Regions from separate parts of the Homo sapiens genome. Here all the other regions are linked to region 3. The links are contacts of gene promoters, found by promoter capture Hi-C in blood cells and fetal thymus (Javierre and others, 2016). All regions are on one chromosome and are shown on one strand. Each heading gives the region's core, a stretch centred on a gene start or on the middle of the fragment in contact. The rest is flanking DNA. Distances are from core to core; before and after follow the strand shown.

The links. Contacts are between HindIII fragments. The CHiCAGO score rates a contact against its expected background, and 5 or more counts as called.
Region 1: a fragment that was not itself captured here is called in contact with the fragment with the promoter of TP53I3 in region 3 in 8 of 17 cell types (naive B cells, total B cells, non-activated CD4 T cells and 5 more); the score reaches 8.5 in naive B cells.
Region 2: a contact is called between a fragment that was not itself captured here and the fragment with the promoter of TP53I3 in region 3, in 13 of 17 cell types (total CD8 T cells, naive CD4 T cells, naive CD8 T cells and 10 more). The highest score is 12.5, in total CD8 T cells.
Region 4: a fragment that was not itself captured here is called in contact with the fragment with the promoter of TP53I3 in region 3 in 6 of 17 cell types (naive B cells, naive CD8 T cells, total B cells and 3 more); the score reaches 8.3 in naive B cells.

The regions. Positions count from the first base shown.
Region 1 is chr2:23,851,407-23,854,173 of GRCh38, reverse strand. All of the region lies in intron 13 of ATAD2B (ATPase family AAA domain containing 2B), which reads left to right. Among named protein-coding and RNA genes, the nearest start is that of ATAD2B, 74 kb to the left of the region's middle. The HindIII fragment of the contact is 4,900 bases long and covers 1-2,767 here.
Region 2 is chr2:23,922,491-23,925,190 of GRCh38, reverse strand. All of the region lies in intron 1 of ATAD2B (ATPase family AAA domain containing 2B), which reads left to right. Among named protein-coding and RNA genes, the nearest start is that of ATAD2B, 3.3 kb to the left of the region's middle. The HindIII fragment of the contact is 2,762 bases long and covers 61-2,700 here.
Region 3 is chr2:24,083,476-24,086,175 of GRCh38, reverse strand. It overlaps TP53I3 (tumor protein p53 inducible protein 3), which reads left to right and starts at 1,342. Exons shown (of 5, transcript NM_004881.5): 1 at 1,342-1,987. The coding sequence starts at 1,850. It also overlaps a transcript of FAM228B not described here. RefSeq lists enhancers at 557-1,057, 1,805-1,854, 2,005-2,104, 2,700 and a silencer at 1,615-1,794. The HindIII fragment of the contact is 14,995 bases long and covers 1-2,700 here.
Region 4 is chr2:23,870,273-23,872,972 of GRCh38, reverse strand. The region is part of intron 8 of ATAD2B (ATPase family AAA domain containing 2B); the gene reads left to right. It also overlaps the pseudogene PGAM1P6. Among named protein-coding and RNA genes, the nearest start is that of ATAD2B, 56 kb to the left of the region's middle. The HindIII fragment of the contact is 5,735 bases long and covers 1-2,700 here.

The DNA of each region.
Region 1 (2,767 bases), core at 22-2,521, 230 kb after region 3:
TCCCAGGTTCAAGTGATTCTTGTGCCTCAGCCTCCTGAGTAGCTGGGATTACAGGTGTGTGCTACCATGCCTGGCGAATTTTTGTATTATTAGTAGAGGTATGTTTCACCATGTTGGCCAGGCTGGTCTCGAACTTCTGACCTCAGGTGATTCTCCTGCTTCGGCCTCCCAAAGTGCTGGTATTACAGGCATGAGCCACCATGCCCAGCCTATTTTTTTATACAGATACTCATTTGTTCCAGAACCATATATTGAAGAGTTTACTTTGTTAAATTTCTTGGCACGTCTTTGACAAAAATTGACCATATAAATGTGTGTCTATTTCTAGATTTGTTAGTTGATTCCATTGATCTACAGGTCTATCCTTATACCACTGTCTTGATTAATGTTCATTTTAGTATAAGTCCTCCAAATTTGTTCTTTTTCAGAATTGTTGTAGTCATCTATTATCTTTCCATTTACATTTCTAAAGCCTCTTGTCAGTTTCTTTAGAAAAGACTGTTGGGATTTATTTGGGATTGCAATTAATCCTTCGATCTATTTGGGAAGAATTGCATCCTTATTCGTCTTTCAGTCTATGAACATGGTAATTCTGTTCATTTATTTAGGTATTCTTTAATTTCCTTTTCCTGTGTCTTATGGTTTTAGCATAAGGATCTTAGGCATCTTTTGTTTAATGCATCCCTAAATACTTTATTGTTCATTTAATGTGAATGGAGTTTTGAAAGAAAATTTATTTTCTAATTGCTTACTGCTGGTTTATAAAAATACAACTGAGTTTATAGACTTTGTATCCACAACCTTGCTAAATTCATTTGTTAGTTCTATTAGCTATTTTGTGGTTTCCTTACGGTTTTATACATATACCTTATCTGCAAATAAAGGTACTTCTACTTCTTCCTTTCCAATCTATGTCTTTTATTTCTTTTTCTTATTTCTTTGGCTAGAATTCAGTTAAATAGTAATGGTGATAATGGAAATCACTGCCTGTTTCCTTCATTGGCTGTAAAACATTGAGACTTTAACCATTGAATGTGATTTTAACTAAGTTTTTCATAGGTGCCCTTTATTACATTGAGGGATTTCCACTATATTCCTAGTTTGCTGTGAGAGTTTATTTTACTGGGATAGAGTACTGAACTTTGTAACATATTTTTTTTTCTGTCTCTTTTGAATTGATCATATGGCTTTTCTCCTGTATTCTATTAAGGTAGAGCATTATTTTGATTGAATTTTAGATTTTTTTTTTTTTTTGGAGATGGAGTCTCGCTCTGTCGCCCATGCTGGAGTGCAATGGCGTGATCTCGGCTCACTGCAACCTCCACCTCCTGGGTTCAAGTGATTCTCTTGCCTCAGCCTCCCGAGTACCTGGCATTACAGGTGTCTGCCACCGTGCCTGGCTAATTTTTGTGTTTTTAGTAGAGACAGGGTTTCACCATGTTGGTCAGGCTTGTCTTGAACGCCTGACCTCAGGTGATCCACCTGCCTCGGCCTCCCGAAGTGCTGGGATTACAAGTGTGAGCCACTGCGCCTGGCCTGAATTTTAGATAGTAAACTAACTTTGCATTCTTAGAATAAACCTCACTTGCTCATAATATATTGTCTTTCTTAAAAAATTATTGGATTCCACTTGCTAATATAAAAAGTTTTATTATCTGTATTAATGAGATTTTGATCTGTAATTACTCTTAAAATATCTGCATCTGGTTTTGGAATCAGGTAATTTTGATGTGTATTAGATGAGATATACACTGGGTGTGATGGTGCATGCCTGTAATCTCAACACTTTGAGAGGCTGAGGCAGCAGGATCTCTTGAGTCTAGGAGTGCAAGAGCAGCCTGGGCAACATAGTGAGACCCTGTCTCTTAAAAAAAAAAAGATGAGATGGCATTCCCTCTTTCTCTATTTTCTGAAAGTGTTTGTGTAAGTTTGATGTTATTCATTTCTTAAGTGTTTGAGAGAATTCACCAGTGAAAATACCTGGGCCTGGAGTTTTGTTTATGGAAAGGTTTTTGATTACAAGTTAAATTTCTTCAGTTGATACAGGGCTGTTCAAGTTTTCTATTTATTCTTAGGTCAGTTTTGTTAGTTTGGTAGTTTATCTTTAAAGGAATTTGTTCATTTCACCTAAGTCAAGAAATTTACATACATTTTTTCCTACTATTCTGTTATCTCCTTAATGCCTAAATAGTCTGCGGTAGTATTCTTTTCATTTCCGATGGTGATAACCTGTGTTTTCTCTTTTTTTTTTTCTTGATTACTCCGGCTAGAGGATTATCAATTTTATTGGTCCTTTCTCCCCCAAAGAGGCAACTTCTGTTTTCATAGATTTTCTACTATTATTTTTGTTTCCAATTTTATACTACCTTTTTTCTTATATTTTTAAAAATTAGTAGACTGAGGGGGATTTGTAGGCAGAGTATAAAAGATTTTTTAGGGCAGTGAAAATAGTCTGTGTTATACTGTAAGAGTGGATCCACATCATGATATGTTTGTCCAAACCCATAGAATGTATATCATCAAGCGTGAACCTTAATGTAAACTGTGGACTTTGTAGATTGTGATGTGTCATTGTAGGTTCATCAGTTGAAATAAGTGCACCACTCTGTTGGGGCATGGGTATACATATGAAGGGGCAGGCGGGGGACGTATGAAAGTCTCTGTATTTCCTTCTCAATTTGGCTGTTAACCTAAAACTGCCCTAACAAATGGTCTTAAAAATAGACTATTCATGACTGGGCACAGTGGCTCACACTTGTAGTCCCAG
Region 2 (2,700 bases), core at 192-2,691, 160 kb after region 3:
GAGAATAAGTACTTTGAAGACGAGGCTTTCGGTGGAAACTATTCCAAACATGTTCAAGCTTCTTGACCTACTGAGGCTATCACATATTTTAAAATAAAACTCAATTTAAGAAAAGATCTTTTCTGTACATTTAAGGACAAAGAAAATATTTAGGGTGTAAGCATTTAATCGTATCATGCTATGTGAATGCCTAGTCTGTTAGAGCAGTGTCTAACTCATCTGAAGCAATTAGCTCATCTTCACTCATCAGTTTGTGGTCCCATTTTTGAATTCATGGATATCATGCTGTCCTCACCCCCCGAGGAATAAGGTGAGGTAATTTGTCAAGCAGCTGTTATAGAGATGTTAAAAGGCTAGGAATCAATAATCTAATGAGGAAATGAACATTTGGTAGCTTTTAAATTGCTAAAAGAATGAAAGATATGAGAGCTCTTTGTAGAAGGGTACTAATGAAACTTTGTTTCAAAGATCCTTTTAAAATGTTTTAAAGCACCATAAATAACAGGGTACTAAAGATTTACTTTGAAATATTTGTTTTTCAGTCTTAAGAAGATTTATGTTCGGCTCTAGGAGATGATGTAGTCATCTAATTGCTTTCTCTGAAAGGTTTTTTTAGAGACGTAACTACTCTTACATAGTGATTGGACCTTTAGAAGAGGATAAATTATAATTCTGAATTTATTAAGTTTATGGACTATATATTTATGAAGCAGGTTGTATATTTCTGGTTAGCTCTTCTCCAGTTTTGTAGGAATTTAGCACTCCTGGTTCACCCTTTCTGGAGTACTTAAAGACACCCTCTATGTCTGTGGGGTCTGTAATAAGCATTTGCCAGTGTCTGTAAAGTCTCATTTGGTGCAAAATGGGGTTGCCCGTGTTGTTGCTTTCGCAGACCCTTATTTTTGTAGAAAGAAATGTATTCCTGTTTGTAACATAATATTCCTGTTTGTAATTGAGGAGTTTCTCCTTTTTCTGCTTTTGTGCCATGTTTGTTTGTTTGTTTTTTTTTGAGACGGAGTCTCGCTGTAGCCCAGGCTGGAGTGCAGTGGCGCGATCTCGGCTCACTGCAGGCTCCGCCCCCCGGGGTTCACGCCATTCTCCTGCCTCAGCCTCCCGAGTAGCTGGGACTACAGGCGCCCGCCACCACGCCCGGCTAATTTTTTTGTATTTTTATTAGAGACGGGGTTTCACGGTGTTAGCCAGGATGGTGTCGATCTCCTGACCTCGTCATCAGCCCGCCTCGGCCTCCCAAAGTGCTGGGATTACAGGCGTGAGCCACCGCGCCCAGCCTGTGCCATGTTCTTAACTAACTACACTTGATGCCTATTTTTCCCCCTTTTCCCTGTTTTTAGATTATTTCATTCACTGTGTCCAGAGACATTTTATTTGCTTTAAAAAGTCATAGCGCTATGAGCTTTTCTTAAAGTTTTGTCTTTTTCCCAAGTAGTATATGCATAGGATGGGGGAAAATATGCATTCTGCCGATTATTGGAATTATTTTCTTTTTCTTTTTTTCGGTATGAAAAGCCTTTTTTTTTTTTGACATGTAAAAGGTGGTACTTAGTGTATATAACTCTGTGAGTTTGGAGATAAGTATATATTTGTGAAAACACCACCGCATCAACACCATAGACATGTCCGTCATTCCTAAAGTTTCCCTGTCCCTTTTATTATGAATGTATTATTAGTATTATTTTTGTGGTAAGAACACTTGATATAAAATCTACCCTCTTAGAAAATTTTAAGTATGCAATACAGTATTCTTAGATGTAGGCACTATGCTATATAGATCTCCAGAACTTATCTGGCATAAGTGAAACTTGATTGTCCCCCCACAAGACCCTGGCAATCACCCTTCTACTCTCTGCTTCTGTGAATTTGCTAGTTTAGATTCCACTAAACTAGCAGATAAGTGAGATCATTCAGTATTTGTCTTTCTGGGACTGACATATTATTTAGTGTAACATCCTCTAGGTGCATCTGTGTTGTTGTAAATGGCAGGATTTCCTTCTTAGGCTTAATAGTATTCCACTGGGCATGCACACATGTACACCACGTTTTCTACATTCATCTCTTTTTGGACATTTAGATTGTTTCCATGTCTTAGCTATTAATAATGCTACTGCGAACATGGAAGTGCAGATGTCCGTCGAAATCCTAATTTCAATTCCTTTGGATAAATACCCAGAAGTTGGGATTGCTGGATCATATGGTAGTTCTATTTTTAATTTTTTGAGGAACGTTCATACTGTTTTCCATAGTGGCTGCACCATTTTGCATTTCTACTGACATGTACCAGGATTCCCTTTTTTCTACATCTCCCCAATATTTGTTGTCTCTTGTCTTTTTGACAAGAGCCATTTTGACAGGTGTGAGGTGATATCTCATTGTGGTTTTGATTTGCATTTCCCTGATGATTAGTAATGTTGAGCACCTTTTTATATACCTGACAGGTGTCTGTTTAGTTAGGACCCTTTTTTTTTTTTTTTGAGACAGAGTCTTACTCTGATGCCCAGGCTGGAGTGGTTCACTGCAGCCTTAAAATCCTGCTTTGCCCATTAAAAAATGTTTTCTTCCTTTGGAGTTGTAGGAGTACCCTATGTATTTTGGAAATTAACTGCTTATCAGATATATGGTTTGCAGATTTTTCTCTTAATCTGTAGATTGCCTTTGTGCCCTCACTTTTAAATTTTCTTATTT
Region 3 (2,700 bases), core at 93-2,592:
GCAAGCTCCCCCTCCCGGGTTCACGCCATTCTCCTGCCTCAGCCTCCCGAATAGCTGGGACTACAGGCGCCCGCCACCACGCCCGGCTAATTTTTTGTATTTTTAGTAGAGACGGGGTTTCACCGTGTTAGCCAGGATGGTCTCGATCTCCTGACCTCGTGATCCGCCCGCCTTGGCCTCCCAAAGTTCTGGGATTACAGGCGTGAGCCACCGCGCCCGGCCTAAAATTCCTGTTATTCTCATAGCAGGGTCTCCTGAATTTTTCCTTAAGTCCCATCATTTTATTATTTCCATCTCTATAGGCTTTTGCTCTGTTGTGTTAAAGAAATAATTATTCAATGATACTTGTTAAAGCACATTAAGGAAGACTTTATTTAGCACCATCGCTACAGGTTTAGGGACCACTGCAATGAGTTCTTGCAGTGGAGGAGACAGGTTGGGATCAACTCTGAATGCATCACGGACAAGTGGGAATGTATAGCCAAGGAGCAGTGTAGGGGGTCAGTGGATGGAAAATTGGTAAGAGGCATCAGGGGTAAGGGGGATTCTATCTAAACTGACCTAACAGGATTCTCACTGAAGACAGGCCAGGGTGGTCGGATATCACTTGGGGGATGGTGGAGGATGAGATATTGAGGGTGATCAGATGTCAAGGATGGGAGGTTCTTACTAAAACAGGAATTTACAAGGAGTGCTACGGATATGTAGTGGGGGGAGGCCAGGGATGCTGCTAAACATCCTACGATGCACAGGACGATCTCCTACAATAACGAACTAGCTAGTCCAAAATGTCAATAGCGCCGAGATTGAGAAACCTTCATGTAGCTTACGGATACAGCTTTTACCCAATCGCCAGCATCCTTCTCCTGGGGCTGAACCTCTCCCCCAGGACTGTCAGGAGGAGGCGAGTGATAAGGATCCCAGGACTGCGTTTTGCCTTCCTTCCCCACCCCCACTCCCAACGGCTCCTTTCTCTTCTCTTAGCAGCACCCAGCTTGCCCACCCATGCTCAAGATGGGCGGGATGCCAGCCTGTTACATAAATGTGCCAAAAGCCTGGCCATGCCTGGAAAATGGACCAATCCGCCCGCCAAGAGGTTGGGTCTCGTTCCCTAGAGAGAAGGAAGTTTCCTCTCCTTGAAGTGAGAGCTAGAATCGCACTTTCTGTCAAGCTGAGAGAAAGACTCTTTTCCAGAGGCTAAAAGGACAAGAAAATCTGATTTGCTTGCTTCTAACTTTGCGTTTTAAAGGGGGAAGGAGGAAAGGAAAGAGGGGGAGGGTGGTTCTGCTTAGCCCCACCCCTCCGGCTACCCCAGGTCCAGCCGTCCATTCCGGTGGAGGCAGAGGCAGTCCTGGGGCTCTGGGGCTCGGGCTTTGTCACCGGGACCCGCAGGAGCCAGAACCACTCGGCGCCGCCTGGTGCATGGGAGGGGAGCCGGGCCAGGAGTAAGTAACTCATACGGGCGCCGGGGACCCGGGTCGGGCTGGGGGCTTCCAACTCAGAGGGAGTGTGATTTGCCTGATCCTCTTCGGCGTTGTCCTGCTCTGCCGCATCCAGCCCTGTACCGCCATCCCACTTCCCGCCGTTCCCATCTGTGTTCCGGGTGGGATCGGTCTGGAGGCGGCCGAGGACTTCCCAGGCAGGAGCTCGGGGCGGAGGCCGGGTCCGCGGCAGACCAGGGCAGCGAGGCGCTGGCCGGCAGGGGGCGCTGCGGTGCCAGCCTGAGGCTGGGCTGCTCCGCGAGGATACAGCGGCCCCTGCCCTGTCCTGTCCTGCCCTGCCCTGTCCTGTCCTGCCCTGCCCTGCCCTGTCCTGTCCTGCCCTGCCCTGCCCTGTGTCCTCAGACAATATGTTAGCCGTGCACTTTGACAAGCCGGGAGGACCGGAAAACCTCTACGTGAAGGAGGTGGCCAAGCCGAGCCCGGGGGAGGGTGAAGTCCTCCTGAAGGTGGCGGCCAGCGCCCTGAACCGGGCGGACTTAATGCAGGTACCCAGGGCTCAGCCGCGCCGGGGCGGGCGGGACTCCAGAGCCTCCCTCTCAACAGCACTCAGTGGACATTGACCAGACGTGAAGGCGTGCACCGCTCCACACCCAGCAGGCAGCTGCGCTGGGGCTTCCCAGACCTAAACCCAGGGCGCCCTCTTTGTTCATGCAAAACAAGGGGGAGTACTTGTAAAGCAGAATCCACCCCGAGCTAATCCATAGCCACTCAGGCCTCCAGATGAGGGCGGAACTAACATTGTTGTGGGGTGTGGGCACACTTACTCCCCAGGCTACCCTGTTCGCCATCTTAATTCTACAGATAAGGAAACTGAAGTTCAGTGAGGTTAAGCAGTACGCCCAAGGCCGTGACACTAGCAATCAGAAGAGCTGGGATTCAAGCTGAGGTCTTTGTGGCTCCAAAGACCTCTTAACTCTTTCCACTCTGAGAGTCCCGGAGCTGACAGCGGGCAGTACTCTTAAGAATTTTCTTCTGTCTGATGCTGATTTACTGACCTGGGCCAGCTGCATTGGTTGGGGTCATTCAGAAATGTGCATCAGAATCCCCCGGGGCACAAAAGAAACGTGATGGGGGCCCAGGCACGTGTACTTTGAAATACTCCTCAGGTGGTTCTGCCACACACTCCTGGTTAAGTCCCTCTGCTCTACAGCTTCTGAGGACTGGGGTGAGTGAGCACAGAGCCTAGCGCTTGATGCAT
Region 4 (2,700 bases), core at 160-2,659, 210 kb after region 3:
ACCTGGAACCTGGAGAACTGCTTCAGCGACTGGTACAATGCCAATGTGAGCCCGGCGGGCCATAAGGAGATGAAGAGTGGCAGGCAGGCAGGCACTGTGAGATGGCTGGCTATGAGTTTGACATCTGCTTCACCTCAGTGCAGAAGAGAGCAATCTGGACCCTCTGGACAGTGCTAGATGCCATTGATCAGATGTGGTTGCCTGTAGTGAGGACTTGGTGCCTCAGTGAGCAGCACTATGGGGGTCTGACTGATCTCAGTAAAGCAGAAACTGCTGCAAAGCATGGTGAGGCCCAGGTGAAGATCTGGAGGCTCTCCTATGATGTTCCACCACCTCCGATGGAGCCTGACCATCCTTTCTACAGCAACATTAGTAAGGATCGCAGGCATGCAGACCTCACGGAGGATCAGCTACCCTCCTGTGAGAGTCTGAAGGACTCTCAAAGCCAGAGCTCTGCCGTTTTGGAATGAAGAAATAGCTCACCTGGTAAAAGAGGGGAAATGGGTGCTGATTGCAGTGCATGGCAACAGCCTCTGGGGCATTGTGAAACATTTGGATGGTCTCTCTGAAGAGGCTGTCATGGAGCTGAACCTGCCGACTAGTATTCCCATTGTCTATGAATTTGACAAGAACTTGAAGACCATCAGGTGCATGCAGTTCCTGGGGGATGAAGAGACTGTGCGTAAAGCCGTGGAAGCTGTGGCTTCCTGCTCTTAGCTATGATCGTGTCACTTCACTCCAGCCTGGGTTGACAGAGTGAGACCTTCTATCTAAAAACAAAAATAAAAACAGAAACAGGCTGGGCATGGTGGCTCATGCCTGTAATCCCAGCAGTTTGGGAGGCCGAGATGGGCGAATCATGAGGTCAGGAGTTCAAGACCAGTCTGGCCAACATAGTGAAACCCTGTCTCTACTAAAAATACAAAAATTAGCTGGGCGTGTTGGTGTGCACCTGTAATCCCAGCTACTTGGGAACTTGAGGCAGGAGAATCGCGTGAACCCAGGAGACAGTGGTTGCAGTGAGTCGAGATTGCGCCATTGCACTCTAGCCGGGGTGACCGTGCGAGATTCTGTCTCAAAAAAAAAGAAAAACAAACCCAAAAACAATTCCTTCTTCCCTCACAAAAATGGATGCAGAAGTTAATGAAAGGATTCCGATTAGTAGAGAAGGAGTAGGAGGTGGGTTAAGGATCTTAAGGAGAAGTTGAGAAAATCTGGGTTGCTAATGGGACATGTGGGCATTGGAGTGGAGTACTGATGCACAGATTTTGGGACATCTTTGAAGGCTATTTGTGCTTGAAGTAAATTACTGACAATGATTGCAGCTTGTATGGTTGTGTGGATTTTCATTAGTGTGTTCAGTGTTCTACTTTTATTACTTGGATTGGTACAGGGTTGGAATTCAGCAAGTGTAATGGAAGAAAAAGGAGACAGAGTCAGGTAGAAAGATTAAAAACTGAAGTAATAGCTTTTCCTGTGAGGCTTGACAGAAAATTAAGCCACGAAGGGAGTTGACTCTGAGTCAGTGGGTGCTCGGGTATAGTAGGCCTTGATGAGTTGAAAGTTGGTATGTTAGGAGGTTATGTTCAAAAAGTAGGCCATTGAATTTTAAAATTGCAGAGGTGGAGAGCAGTTCACGCGGTAACAAGATCCGAGGTAAGATCATGGCAAATGTTTTTTTTTTAGTAAAGCAGAGCTGAGGGTGGTTAAATGGCTAGGCAGGTGGTAAGCGAAACCTAGGTAGGGGTGGAGAAGAAGACGATATAAGGGATATTTACAGGGAATGTGGCTAGAGCTCAATGGCAGTGATTATGTGGTGGGCAAAAAGGGATTTAGGATGATTTTTGAGGTTTTTTTTTTTTTGCAAATTACTAGTTAGTGGAACTGCTAACTGAATATACAGTTTAAAAGAAGTGGTTGAAGCATTTGATTTGGATATGATGAACTCAATTTGAACACTTCGTGAGCACACAATTTTGTGGTGGTTTTATTATAGTATTTTTTAGGTGTCTTAGCGATGTCATGAGTTATACTAATAATCTGGCATTCATTAAGTATTATTTTTCCTTCGTGATGACTTCAGCCTGGCAAATTACCTAATCTCTCCATAGTAGTTCTGGTTATAAACTATTTTTTTCTTCAAAATATTTTATGTATTTTATAAGAAGTTCAAACAGGATGGAAATATCTTAAGTGAGTTAAAGCCCTTGTCCTCTGTAAACCAGTGTATTATTTTTCCTTTGTTCTTTAAATGTCTGGACTGTGACTATTTGGGAAAGATAAAATTAAAAAAAAAAACCAAACTTTTTTTTTTCTGAGATTCTAATGTTATTTATCAAACAGTGACCGATATTCGCTAAATTTGGATGTAATTTAAATTGGTTGCTGGCCCTGTGCGGTGGCTTATATCTGTAACTCCAGCACTTTGGGAGGCCAAGGTGGGTAGATCACTTGAGCTCAGGAGTTTGAGACCACCTTGGGAAACATGGTGAAACTCCCTCTTTACAAAAAGTACAAAAACTAGCCAGTGTGGTGGCGGGTGCCTCCAGTCTCAGTTACTTGGGGGTTTGAGGCAGGAGGATCGCTTGAGCCCTGGAGGTTGAGGCTGTAGTGAGCCCTGACCTTGCCACCGCACTCCAGCCTGGGTGACAGAGTGAGACACTGTCTCAAAAAAAAAAAAAAAAAAAGTTGGTTACTGAC